Regions from separate parts of the Homo sapiens genome. Here regions 1 and 3 are each linked to region 2. Evidence: promoter capture Hi-C in 16 types of primary human blood cells and fetal thymus (Javierre and others, 2016). All regions are on one chromosome and are shown on one strand. Each heading gives the region's core, a stretch centred on a gene start or on the middle of the fragment in contact. The rest is flanking DNA. Distances are from core to core; before and after follow the strand shown. Region 1 overlaps RCOR1 (REST corepressor 1). Region 2 holds the start of DYNC1H1 (dynein cytoplasmic 1 heavy chain 1). Region 3 holds the start of LOC105370680 (a long non-coding RNA gene).

Region 1 (4,031 bases), core at 1,453-3,952, 630 kb before region 2:
TGGGAGGCCGAGGGGGGCAGATCACCTGAGGTCAGGAGTTCAAGACCAGCCTGGCCAATATGGTGAAACCCCGTCTCTACTAAAAACACAAAAATTAGCCAGGCATGGTGGCACGCACCTGTAGTTCCAACTACTTGGGAGGCTGAGGCAGGAGAATCACTTGAACCTGGGAGATGGAGGTTGCAGTGAGTCAAGATTGTGCCATTGCACTCCAGCCTGGGCAACAGATCAAGACTCCGTCTCAAAAAAAAAAAAAAAGGCGGGGGGAGGGGCAGTCACAGTGGTTCACGCCTGTAATCCCAGCACTTTGGAAGGACAAGGCGGGGAGATCACCTGAAGCAAAGAGTTCGAGACCAGCCTGGCCAACATGGTGAAACCGCATCTCTAATAAAAACACAAAAATTAGTTGGGCGTGGTGGTGGGCACCTGTAATCCCAGCTACTCTGGAGGCTGAGGCAGGAGAATCACTTGAACCTCGGAGGTGGAGGTTGCAGTGAGCCAAGATCGTGCCACTGCACTCCAGCCTGGGCAACAGAGTGAGACTTGGTCTCAAAAAATAAAAGAAAAAAGAAAAAAACAAGTAGGAGGAGGAAATAAAAACTAGTAAGGATCAAACTCTCAATTCTTAATTTATTACTCAATTCACTACTCTTAAATTGCAGTCATGGAAAGAACCTGTCTTAAGTCTTAAACAGCTAAGAAAGAATTTTGCTATAAAACAAACATCAGTTGGCTGGGCACGGTGGCTCACCCCTGTAATCCCAGTAATTTGGAAGGCTGAGGTGGGTGGATCACCTGCGTTCAGGAGTTCCAGACCAGCCTGATCAACATGGAGAAACCCTGTCTCTACTATAAATACAAAAAATTAGCCAGGCATGGTGGCGCATGCCTGTAATCCCAGCTACTTAGGAGGATGAGGCAGGAAAATTGCTTGAACCCAGGAGGCAGAGGTTGCGGTGAGCCCAGATCACGCCATTGCACTCCAGCGTGGGCAACAAGAGTGAAACTCCGTATTAAAAAAAAAAAAAATGTTGTATCATTTCTATTCCAAAATGGAAGCCTTCCTTCCCCTTAAGCTTTTAAGTTAAATGAAAAGACACATAAAAAACCACTAGGAAATAGTAAAGTCTCAATTTTCTGCCATATCTAGAAAACTGTGTCCCCCTGCTTAGGTTGGCAAAACAAGGTTTGAAATTACTTTACACCAGTTAGATTCCTTTCCAGATTAAAACAAACACAAAATAAAGAAATTTGGGGCCGGGCGCGGTGGCACATGCCTGTAATCCCAGCACTATGAGAGGCCGAGACGGGCGGATCACGAGGTCAGGAGATCAAGACCATCCTGGCTGACACGGTGAAACCCCGTCTCCACTAAAAATACAAAAAATTAGCCAGGAGTGTTGGTGGGCGCCTGTAGTCCCTGCTACTCTGGAGGCTGAGGCAGGAGAATGGCGTGAACCTGGGAGGCGGAGCTTGCAGTGAGCTGAGATCACACCACTGCGCACTCCAGCCTGAGGGACAGAGCAAGACTCCGTCTCAAAAAAAAAAAAAAGAAATTTGGAAATTTTAATATCAATACTCAACCAATTGGCAGCAAGACTATGCAGCAAAACAGTTAGATGTTTTCCTTTTTATTTCTGAGACAGGGTCTCACTCTGTCACCCAGGCTGGAGTGCAATGGCCAGATCACTGCTCACTGCAGCCTTGACTTCCCAGAGATCCTCCAGCCTCAGACCCCCCCGTAGCTGAAACTACAGGCACATGCCACCATGCCCAGCTAATTTTTTTATTTTTTGTTGAGACAGAGTCTGACTACATTGCCCAGGCTGGTCTCCAACTCCTGAGCTCCAGAGATCCTCCAGCCTTGGCCTCCCCAAGTGTTGGGACTACAGGTGTGAGCTACTGCAATCTGATAAATGTTTTCCATTTTAGAATAGCTGGTCACTAGCAAGTTTATGCTCATATCTATTCCAACAAAAAGCCCAAAGACAGTTCAAAATATTATATTTGCTGTTTCAAAGAAAAGTATAACTCCAAAGAAGTCAAACTCATTACTAACAATGCAGAGCTGATGTCAATATTTCGATGAATGTCAGAAATCTAATTCCTGTTGTTGACAAATATGCCCTTTTCCTTAGTCACATCCAACACATCTACATAAAGTTTTCAAAATTTATGTTAACAAAAATGTATCAAAAAGCCTACCAACTTACTCAAAGATTTGTGGAAGTCGATTTTTAAAAATAATACATTAGGAAAATTTGGTAACAAGCTTTATGTTCTGTGTTTTAAAGCAAAGATAGACTTGACCTACAAAATGAAGACAGGGTCAACTGTAACCAAAAAACAGTATGCTTCCCCTGGTGGCCAACCAAGGAACGGAGGAGCCAAGCATACAAGAGATATAGCCTGGCCACCTAGTTCTATCCTGTCACTCATAAACGAGAAGTGACTACCAAAAAAAAAAAAAAGAATTGGGGAGAAGAGGAAACTATCAAAAACACTAACATGGACTTAAAAGAAACACAAACGCGAGTATTAGACAAATAAATTTAACAGATTTACGTCAACAAATCAAAATTTAGAAGGCCAATTTAGGAAGTCATTTATTTCCAGAGTGTCCAAGAGCTCACCTAGGACCTCTATGTATTTTCACTTCAAAGTGCAGTTTAGTACCTTAATAACAGCTTGAGAGCAATCGCCTTTTTCAAGGACTAGATCATTGCAATTTTCTGCAGTCTTGTTTCCAAGGAAAAAACATGTATGCGTTTATCTTTTCAAATAAACTAGTGGTATAACCCACATACAGAACCCCAGCTCTAAAGCCCTCCAACCATGGAGGATTGTTAACTCCAGCTTTACAAGATGCTCTTTTGAATTTTATTTCTGAAATAAATCCTACGTTCTTTCAAACATTTTCCATACCAACAACCTTTAAAGACAGTCTCATACAGACACTGGCTAGAATCTCATGCATTAAAATCTGACGAATTCCTTTGTCTGATCGGATTTTTTTTCTTGTACCACTTTAAATTTGCTTCTACACAGAATAGCAGCCAGGGAACTAAGTGTTCCATTCTAGGGTGTAGGGCTTTCTTGTAGGTGAAAAGCATTTGTTAGGCTAAAGCTTCTGATGCTTCTCAATTTCACAATCTCTTCCTCCAAAAAAAAGGAAATACACACATTTACAAATAGGTCCTAAAATCCAACTGCCACACGCGAGACTCTCTTCCCCAGGCAGGCGCCCTCTGGAAAACACACTTCTTTTATTGACTGGTTTTGGGGGGTCGTTCTTCTACTCGCCTTCTGGATGGGAGGGCAGTCAGGAGCCAGCAAGAGCCCAGAGGCTGAGAGGAGGAGCAAAGGCGTGGGGAGCAGCCTTTGGGAAGGGTTCCGAGAAAGGGGTCTCTGGGGACCTCCTAAGTCCGGGGCGCTCGCAGGACACTAACTCTCCGGCACTGCCACCCTTACCCCTGGCCGAGGCGCAGCTCACCTGGACGCAGGGACCCCCAGCGCCCCCAGGCCAGGTGTGGCCACCTCCGACGCCACCCGCAGTCCTCGGAGGCGCAAGGGGGCAGCGGCGCCGGCCCTGCTGGGGGCGACCTGGCCTCCCCCGGGTGCAGAGGCACGTTTGCAGAACACTCGTGTGCGTGTGCGCCTCCTCGTCCTCGCCCTGCTGTTCTCCCCACGGACGGCAGGGCGAACGCACAAAAAGAAAGTTGTCGGCGGGCTCCCGCCCCCTCGGGCTCGCCGGGGACCCGGGGCTCCCGCTCATCCCCGCCGCCGGCCGGCCGGGGCCGCTACTCACCGGGGTCGAAGTCGGGCACCACCGCCTGGTACTGGGGTCCGACCCTCATGCCACCGCCACCTGCGGGGGAAGCAGAATACGGCGGTCAGCGCGGCGCGGGGCGCGGGGCCCGGGGCCGCGGGGGCGGCTGCCACCTACCGTGCTCCTCGTCGCTGGACGAGCCCGAGCTGCCTTCCTCCCAGGAGTTGCTGCTGCTGTTGCCATTGGGCGCCGCCGCCGCCAA
Region 2 (3,934 bases), core at 98-2,597:
CCTTGCTGGTGGGCGATCATTATTTGAGGAGACAGCTGGAACACGCTAACTCTAGCCTCTTCCCCCTACTAGGTGCCTAACCTGAATCTTTTTTTTTTTTTTTAATCTGTAAAATTAGACTCAAATATTACAGGGTTATCATTAACATCATCGAAGCATTAAACAAATATGAGGTATGATCAGTGAAAACAAGCAGTGGATGGGGAGCTGAGACACTGAGTCTAGTCTCAGGACTAAGATTAGCTGGTGACCTTGGGTGAAATCACTTAACCTGAGCCTCAGTTTCCTCAGGTGTAAAATCAGGATACACCCGTTCAGCAAGGATGCTGTGAGAGCATCCACCTACAACAGTGATGCTCGCAGGCCCGGGGCTGGCACCGTCGCTCTGTGGGCCTCGGCCTCTGGGTCCCCACAAGGCAGGGCTGGGACACCCGCCCGACCTCCTCCCGAACCAGAACCCCGGCTGCCCCCAGCTCCGCGGGTCTGCCCCCGACACATCCCTCCCGAAGGCCACTTGGCTTGGACACAAATCGAAACCGAAAAGCTCATGTGACACTGGAGGCAGGGATGCGGCCTCGCCCGCTCTCAGCCCAGGGAGACGCTGTCTCCACCCAACTCGGCCATCTTGAGAGGCCCGAGCAGACAAAGCGACCCCATTGTTTTGGGTGACGGCAGACGGGGACCCCTTTCCCCTCCCCGCGACCAGGAGCGGGGCGCCCTGGGGGCTCCGGGCCGGGCAGTGGGTGTGGCGAGGGCGAGCCCCGGGCGCCGCGCCGGCCTCTGCGGGGCGTCTGCGGCCCTGGGGACCCGGCCGGCGGGACGTCTGCGGCCGCCGGGCTCTGCCCATCCAGGGGTCATCTGCAGCTGCCGGGCTCCTCCCATCCCGGGGACATCTGCGACCCCGGAGGACCTGGCAGGCCCTGCATTCCGCGAGGCCTGGCTCTGGCGACCCTGCCCTCCGCGGCCCCGCACCTTTGAGCGTGGAGCGCTCCACCAGCACCGTGTGGACCTGCGGGTCCGAAAGGAACTTGCGCATCTGCTCCAGGGCGCTCTTCTCCTCCAGCGCCGCCTCCAGCGCGGCCGGCGCCTCGCCGCCGTCCTCCAGCAGCAGCGGCACCAGCTTGCGCAGGTGCTTCTGCAGCACCGACACGTCCGCCACATTCTGCACGGCCGACACTTCCAATCCGGCCGAGCCGTCCTCGCCGCCGCCGCCCCCGGGCTCCGACATGGTGTCGCGCTCGGGACCTTCCAGGAGCGATGAGAAGGCGGCCGCGACTCAGCGAGACAGCCAGCAAGAGACAGAAACGGCCGCCGGAAGCCGGACCGTCCGCTAGCCCACCGCAGACTGAGGAGAGCGGGAGCCGGCTCCGCCCTAAAGGCAGCCACTGCCAGGTGGCCCCGCCCCGCCCCGCCGGCCGCAGCCGCCGCAGCCACCCGCGCTCGCTCGCGGCCTTAGCGTCACGGCGCCGCGCGTGCGCGGGGGGCGGGCCCGGCGATGTCGCCGCGCGCCCTTCTGGGACTTGTAGTCTCGGCGCTGGTCGGGGCCCGCAGCCTCCGCACTGCGAGTCCTAGGAGATGGGGACTTGGCTCAACGTCCTGGCTCGGCGCCCGGGCTTGGCGAGGTTGGTCAGGGGCTGCGTCTGTCTTCTTCACTGCTGTGGACGCAGCGAATAGCACACAGCCAGAGAAACTTTATAGTGAATCAGTGATGTTATTGGCGAGAGCTAACGTTTAGTGAGCGCTTAGCCTGTGCCCGGCGTTGTTCTAAGCCCCTTAACCTCTCATTAAATGTTCTCTCATTGAATGAATGAATGACTACGTATCAGGTACCAAAATATAGGCACGACAGATGTGTTATTAGATATAGACCGGGAGATTGAGGATACTTTTCAGAGGGGGAGGAGATGAGGGGCGTGCTCAGAGAGTCCCATTGCCAGGCTGGAAACGGACAGCTGGGGAGGGGGCCTTCGGGGCAGTGTAAGGTTAAGCCAGGAATGACACCTTCACTGTACGTAAAGCCAAGCTGTGATGGGATCTGGTTCCTAATGACAAAAATCATTGTCCCCGAGGACGCTGTGAGGACCAAGAGGGAGACCTACTGAGAACAGCTACCTCCAGCAATGGCTCTCCTCCAGCCCCCTAGAGCTGGCACTGTCATTCTGTGGGCCTCAGTATCTGGGTCCGTACAAGGCAGGGGCTGGGTTGCCTGCCCACCAAGTTTCCCCCTAGTTCGGACCCACCACGACCTCCTCCCCTACACCATGACTACATAAGAGCCAGAATCCAGGCTGCCCAGCTGGGTGCGGTGGCTCACACCTGTAATCCTAGCATTTTGAGAGGCTGAGATGGGAGGATTGCTTGAGGCCAGAAGTTCCAAGACCAGCCTGGTCAACCTAGCGAGACCCTATATCTATGTGTATTTAAAAATTAAGAATTTTGTAAAATAATAAAAATAATAGAATCCAGGCTGCCCATCTTTGTAGTTTAGAGATGGTAGGTTCTTCTAAGGGGTAGTAATTGGCCTTTGAAAGTTCACATTCATAACTTCTTTCTTAAGTTGGGTGGAGAGAGGGAAGCCAATGGCGTTTTTTTTTTTTTTGGTTTTTTTGTTTTTTTTAAACATCAAAGTGCACTGTCAGAGTGCCGAGTCCTGATTGGTGGAATGATGATGGTATGATTTGATTCTCCCAAATCATCTTTGAAAAACTGTGAAACATACAATAAGCTTATTCCTTGCCTAATTACCGGTTGCTGGGTCCCAGGGGGTTGCTGGAACACGGAGACTAATCAGATGATTCTTGTCTTTAAGGAGCATGTGGAAGAGGGGACAGATGAATACCCCATCTTCCTGCTCTCCATCAGTCCGCCCTGGTGTGATGTGCCTAAGCAGTTCCGAGTAATCTTCCTGGAAAAAATAAATAGGCAACTGCGATGAGTTTGTGCAAGGATCCTAATGGTAATGAATAATAATAACACACCACTGACAGCGAACGCTGAGTGTTCACTGCGTGCTAGGCACCATGCAGAGGGTTTCCCCTCACATGTACTTTAGGGGTAGAAAGAGGGACAAAGAGGAAAGTCTATTAGGTGCAGATCTGTGAACTCTGAATAGGCCATCCACCATCTGAGACTCAGAAACCTGCAGGGACCTGGCCGATGGGCAGGCTGCATGCTGGCTGCACCATGAGTCAGCACCAGACTGGGAGACGCAGCCACTCAGGGATCCAAGGGACTCAAACATCTGCAACCTGGCCCCAGGCCAAGAGAACAAACTGCAGGCTCCGGATTTGCGGCCCTGTAGGATAGGCTCAAAATGAAACATGTTTGTTATTTCTAAGTGGATGGGAACTGAAAGAACCCGAACAATCAGTGTACAAGGATTCATGAATGGACCAAACATGCTTGCTTTTTGTTCTTGAAAGATGTTTGTTGTATTTAATATATAACGAGAAGAGTGGTCAACGCTGACTGGGTGCTGAGCACTTTAAGTGCATTACCTGGGTGGCTGGCTGGGCTGTGCCAGGGTTGAAGGGTGTGGGGAGCTTCTTTCAAGGTGCCCCTTCTGCCTCCTGGCACAGGACTCTGGCTCCAGCACACCCCAAGCTGACCCTGGTGGGGGTAGGGCCCCTCACCCAAACCTGGCCTCTCCCGTCTCTTGTTCTGCTGCCTCAGCTTTCTCCTGTCTGTGGTAGAGTCTGCTTGGACAGACTCTGGGCAGGGCAGGGGGCAGGGCAAGCTGGAGAGAGAATTCGTTCTAGGTTGATGTGGGATGATAGTGGCTGGTAGGGCGCTTGTATCCTATTGGAAATCCATGATGAGATCCCATTCATTCCCACCCTTCTCTTAACAATGTCTCCTTAAGTCCAAGTCTCAAGTCGGGTGCCCAGTTTCATACCATCCTTCCTCTCCCTCTCACAACCTTCGGGCAGGACCA
Region 3 (3,503 bases), core at 383-2,882, 550 kb before region 2:
GTACCTAGGAGTGGAACTGCTGGTTCCTATGATGAGTTTAGGAAATGGCCAAGCTTTTCCAAGTTGTTGCATCATTTTGCATTCCCACTGGGGGATTGTATGAGAGTTCCAGTTGCTCCATGTTCTTGTCAACAGTCGGTATGTTGGGATTTTTTTCTTTTCTTTTTTTTGTGAGACAGGGTCTTGCTCTGTCACCCAGGCTGGAGTGCAGTGGCATGATCACGGCTCACTGCAACCTTGACCTCCCAGGCTCAGGTGATCCATCCACCTCAGCCTTCTGAGTATCTGGGACCACAGGCAGGCACCATCATGCCCGGCTAATTTATTTTATTTTATTTTATTTTTGAGATGGAGTTTCACTCTGTCACTCAGGCTGGAGTGCAATGGCACCATCTCGGCTCACTGCAACCTCTGCCTCCCGGGTTCAAGCAATTCTCCTGCCCCAGCCTCCCGAGTAGCTGGGATTACAGGCACCTGCTATCAAGCCCAGCTAATTTTTTTTTTTTGTATTTTTTGCAGAGATGGGGTTTCACCACGTTGGCCAGGCTGGTCTCAAACTCCTAACCTCAGGCAATCTGCCTGTCTTGGGCTTCCAAGGTGCTGGGATTACAGGCATGAGCCACCGCGCCTGGCCACGCCCGGCTAACTTTTTTATTTTTATTTTTTGTAGAGATGAGGTCTCACTATATTTCCCAGGCTGGTCTCAAACTCCTGAACTCAGGTGATCCGCCTTGAGTTCAGGAGTTTGAGCCTTGAGCGTTTGTATCTTGATTTAGTGGTTGGTGCTCCTCCAACCTCCCCAGGCCCTGAGGATTTGGAGCTTCAGGGAGAAGGAAGAGAGTTCCCAGCCCCTCCTTAGCCAGTCCCATCCTCCTCCAGGAGCCTTCCCTGCTTGTTCTGGCCCTGGAAGGTCTGCTGTCTACGATCTGTCCCCACTGCTTCCCCATCATTGTGCTAAGCTGTGATGCCCATAATAATAAACCAGGCTTCCTGAGATTCATGCCTTTGTGAGTCTCATTCCACGTGAACTCTGGGCTTGTCTTGGAGAATGAGGTATTAGAAAGCATGATGGAAGCAGAGGTTTAATGAGCTCTTGCACACTGGGGCTTGTCCTGCCATGCTGTGAGGAAGACCAAGTTAGCCACGTGGAGAAGCCAAGCAAAGGAGCACCGAAGCAGGGTGGCAGCCCATGCTGGAGGCAGCCGAGCTCCCACTGGCAACCAGCACCAACTGTAGCCATGTGGATGAACCACTTGGACATTTCACTCCAGTTGGGCCTCCAGATCCCTACAGCTGTAGAGTGATCCCAGCGGGCGCCACAGGAAGCAAAAGAGCCATCCAGTCAATCCAGAGAACCGCAAACAATCCTACATCATTGCTGTTTAAAGCCACCCTGGCAGGGTTGTTTGTTGCACAGCAGAAGAGAACTGATACACTGTGGAGATCTCCTTGTCTCTCAGGGGTCACCGGCATAACCTGCAGCTCCTCCACCCTCCACCTTTCCCCTTCCTGTCCATCACTTTTGAAGGGTGGGCAGTTTACCTAATCACTGCCCTCCTGGGGCCAGGAAGCCCCTTCCAGTTCAGCCCTCTGCTCCCTTCACAATGGGCACTGAGGAAAGCATCTCCTGGCAGGGCCTCCGCACCCCTCCAGGCCCTCAGATCCCTGCTGGACATACGGACATAGGGTGGCATAGTGAGGGCTGGCTCCTGGGAATCCTGATGCCGCCACCTGGACAGCACTGGACCCTCAGTGGGCTCTGCTGACAGTGTCCTGGGGGTTCCTGGATGGGGACAGATGACAGGCCGAGGGGGTGGCGCAGCAGGGATAGGAGCTGCAATGGAAGGCTAGGCCGAGTCTCTCCCCACACTGCCCGCACGCTCTCCCCTGCATCCAGCTCCTGAGGCGCTCTGGCCTCAGCATCTGCACCTGTAAAGTGGGCCTGGAGTATGCGGAAGTCCCAGCCAGGCAGACACACAGGAGCCTGGTAGACGTGCGGCTGGGGAAGGCAAGGGAAGTGGCAGTTGGGACGCGCGAGCAGGCCGGGCTGCGTGGACGGCCACCAGGTGGAGGGTACAGGAGCGCTGGGGTCCGCTCTCCTAGGGAGATGGGGCTCGGACCGGGGACCCTGTCACCCGCAGTCCGCGGGCCGCGGGCGGGCAGAAGCAGAGCCTGGGACCTTGAGGGCGTCTCCCGACTGGGCGGGGGTCGGCGCTCGTCCCCGCTGGGAAGGCCGGGAAGCGGAGGCGCGCACAGCCCCCTCCCTGCGCCCAGCGCGGTCCGCGGACTCCGGCTGGGGGAGGGGAACCCGGAAGGGGCCCGCCGGACCACCTGCCTCGCCCGCCCCGCCGGGACCTCCGATCGGCCCAGCCGGGGGCAGGCGCAGTGGCGGCGGCGCGGATGGCGGGACTGTGGCCATTTCACCCGGGGGGAGGTGGAGACCCTGGTGGGCGGGGGGCCCGCCGAGGCCGCGGGGCGAGGGGAGAGCGGAGTGGGCACTCAGCCCGCGAACCCCGCCCCCGGGGCCAGGGCGCTGGGCGTCCCCGCCCCCGCACCCGCAGCCTGGTGCGCCCGGGTCGGGGGTCCCTCGCCCGGCTTCGGCGGAGGCTGCGGGTCGCAGTGACGTCCGCGGCCGCCAGGGGGCGGTGTCGGGCCGCGCTGGGCGCTGGGGTCGGGCTCCGGGCTGCCGCCCGCTTTCCCCTGAGCGGATGGGGATACTGAGGCCCGGACCCAGCCGTCACGGGCCAGGGCCTCGCCTCTCCCCGAGGGCGGTCGGCAGGGTCCGACCAGGGAACACCTCCGCCCCTGCAAACTCTCTCCGACCATGGCGCAGTTCAGCGGCGCTCAGTCCCCAACCCATGTCCCGGCCCCTTCCCCGCCTCGGGCCCGGAAAGTGATCTTGCGGACGCAGGGACCCGGCGGGTCGGGGCATGTGGGTAGAGGGCGCGCCCGCGCACTGGCCGCTGTCACCCTTGGGACTGCCCTGCACTGTGCGACCTGGGCCGGGCCAGGCCCTCCGGTCTCCGTTGCCCCTTCTGACTCACTGCTCTTCAAGCTGCAGCAAAGTCACAGCAGGCTTCGCCATGACCATGTCAGCCATACCCCTTCTGATGGTCACCTAGGTAGTTTCCAGGTTTTCCTTATTAAAGATGCAGCAGTGACTCTATCTCCCTAGTACTTGGTATGCACTTGTATTCTCTTCAAAGCTTTAATAATGAAATAGACATGAAATATAAGGCTGGGCGCGGTGGCTCACGCCTGTAATCCCAGCACTTTGGGAGGCCTAGGCGGGCGGATCACGAGGTCAGGAGATCGAGACCATCCTGGTTAACATGGTGAAACCCCGTCTCTACTAAAAATACAAAAAAAATTAGCCGGGCGTGGTGGCGGGCGCCTGTAGTCCCAGCTACTCGGGAGGCTGAGGCAGGAGAATGGCGTGACCCGGGGAGGCAGAGCTTCCAGCCTGGGCGACTCCGTCTCAAAAAAAAAAAAAGAAAGAAAGA

What was found. The method cuts DNA at HindIII sites, captures the fragments that hold promoters and counts their contacts. A CHiCAGO score of 5 or more calls a contact.
Region 1: a fragment that was not itself captured here is called in contact with the fragment with the promoter of DYNC1H1 in region 2 in 1 of 17 cell types (fetal thymus); the score reaches 7.3 in fetal thymus.
Region 3: a contact is called between a fragment that was not itself captured here and the fragment with the promoter of DYNC1H1 in region 2, in 3 of 17 cell types (fetal thymus, naive CD8 T cells and total CD4 T cells). The highest score is 7.3, in fetal thymus.

What each region holds. Positions count from the first base shown.
Region 1 is chr14:102,593,103-102,597,133 of GRCh38, reverse strand. RCOR1 (REST corepressor 1) reads right to left here. Exons shown (of 12, transcript NM_015156.4): 1 at 3,947-4,031; 2 at 3,809-3,868. Among named protein-coding and RNA genes, the nearest start is that of RCOR1, 2.5 kb to the right of the region's middle. RefSeq lists a silencer at 3,509-4,031. The HindIII fragment of the contact is 855 bases long and covers 2,275-3,129 here.
Region 2 is chr14:101,961,986-101,965,919 of GRCh38, reverse strand. DYNC1H1 (dynein cytoplasmic 1 heavy chain 1) reads right to left here and starts at 1,347. Exons shown (of 78, transcript NM_001376.5): 1 at 973-1,347. The coding sequence starts at 1,228. RefSeq lists silencers at 655-864, 1,355-1,514 and enhancers at 390-999, 1,000-1,610, 1,655-1,794. The HindIII fragment of the contact is 2,903 bases long and covers 1-2,727 here.
Region 3 is chr14:102,516,137-102,519,639 of GRCh38, reverse strand. LOC105370680 (a long non-coding RNA gene) reads right to left here and starts at 2,173. Exons shown (of 4, transcript XR_944239.2): 1 at 1,930-2,173. RefSeq lists an enhancer at 1,945-2,064 and silencers at 2,555-2,764, 2,785-2,834. The HindIII fragment of the contact is 3,153 bases long and covers 56-3,208 here.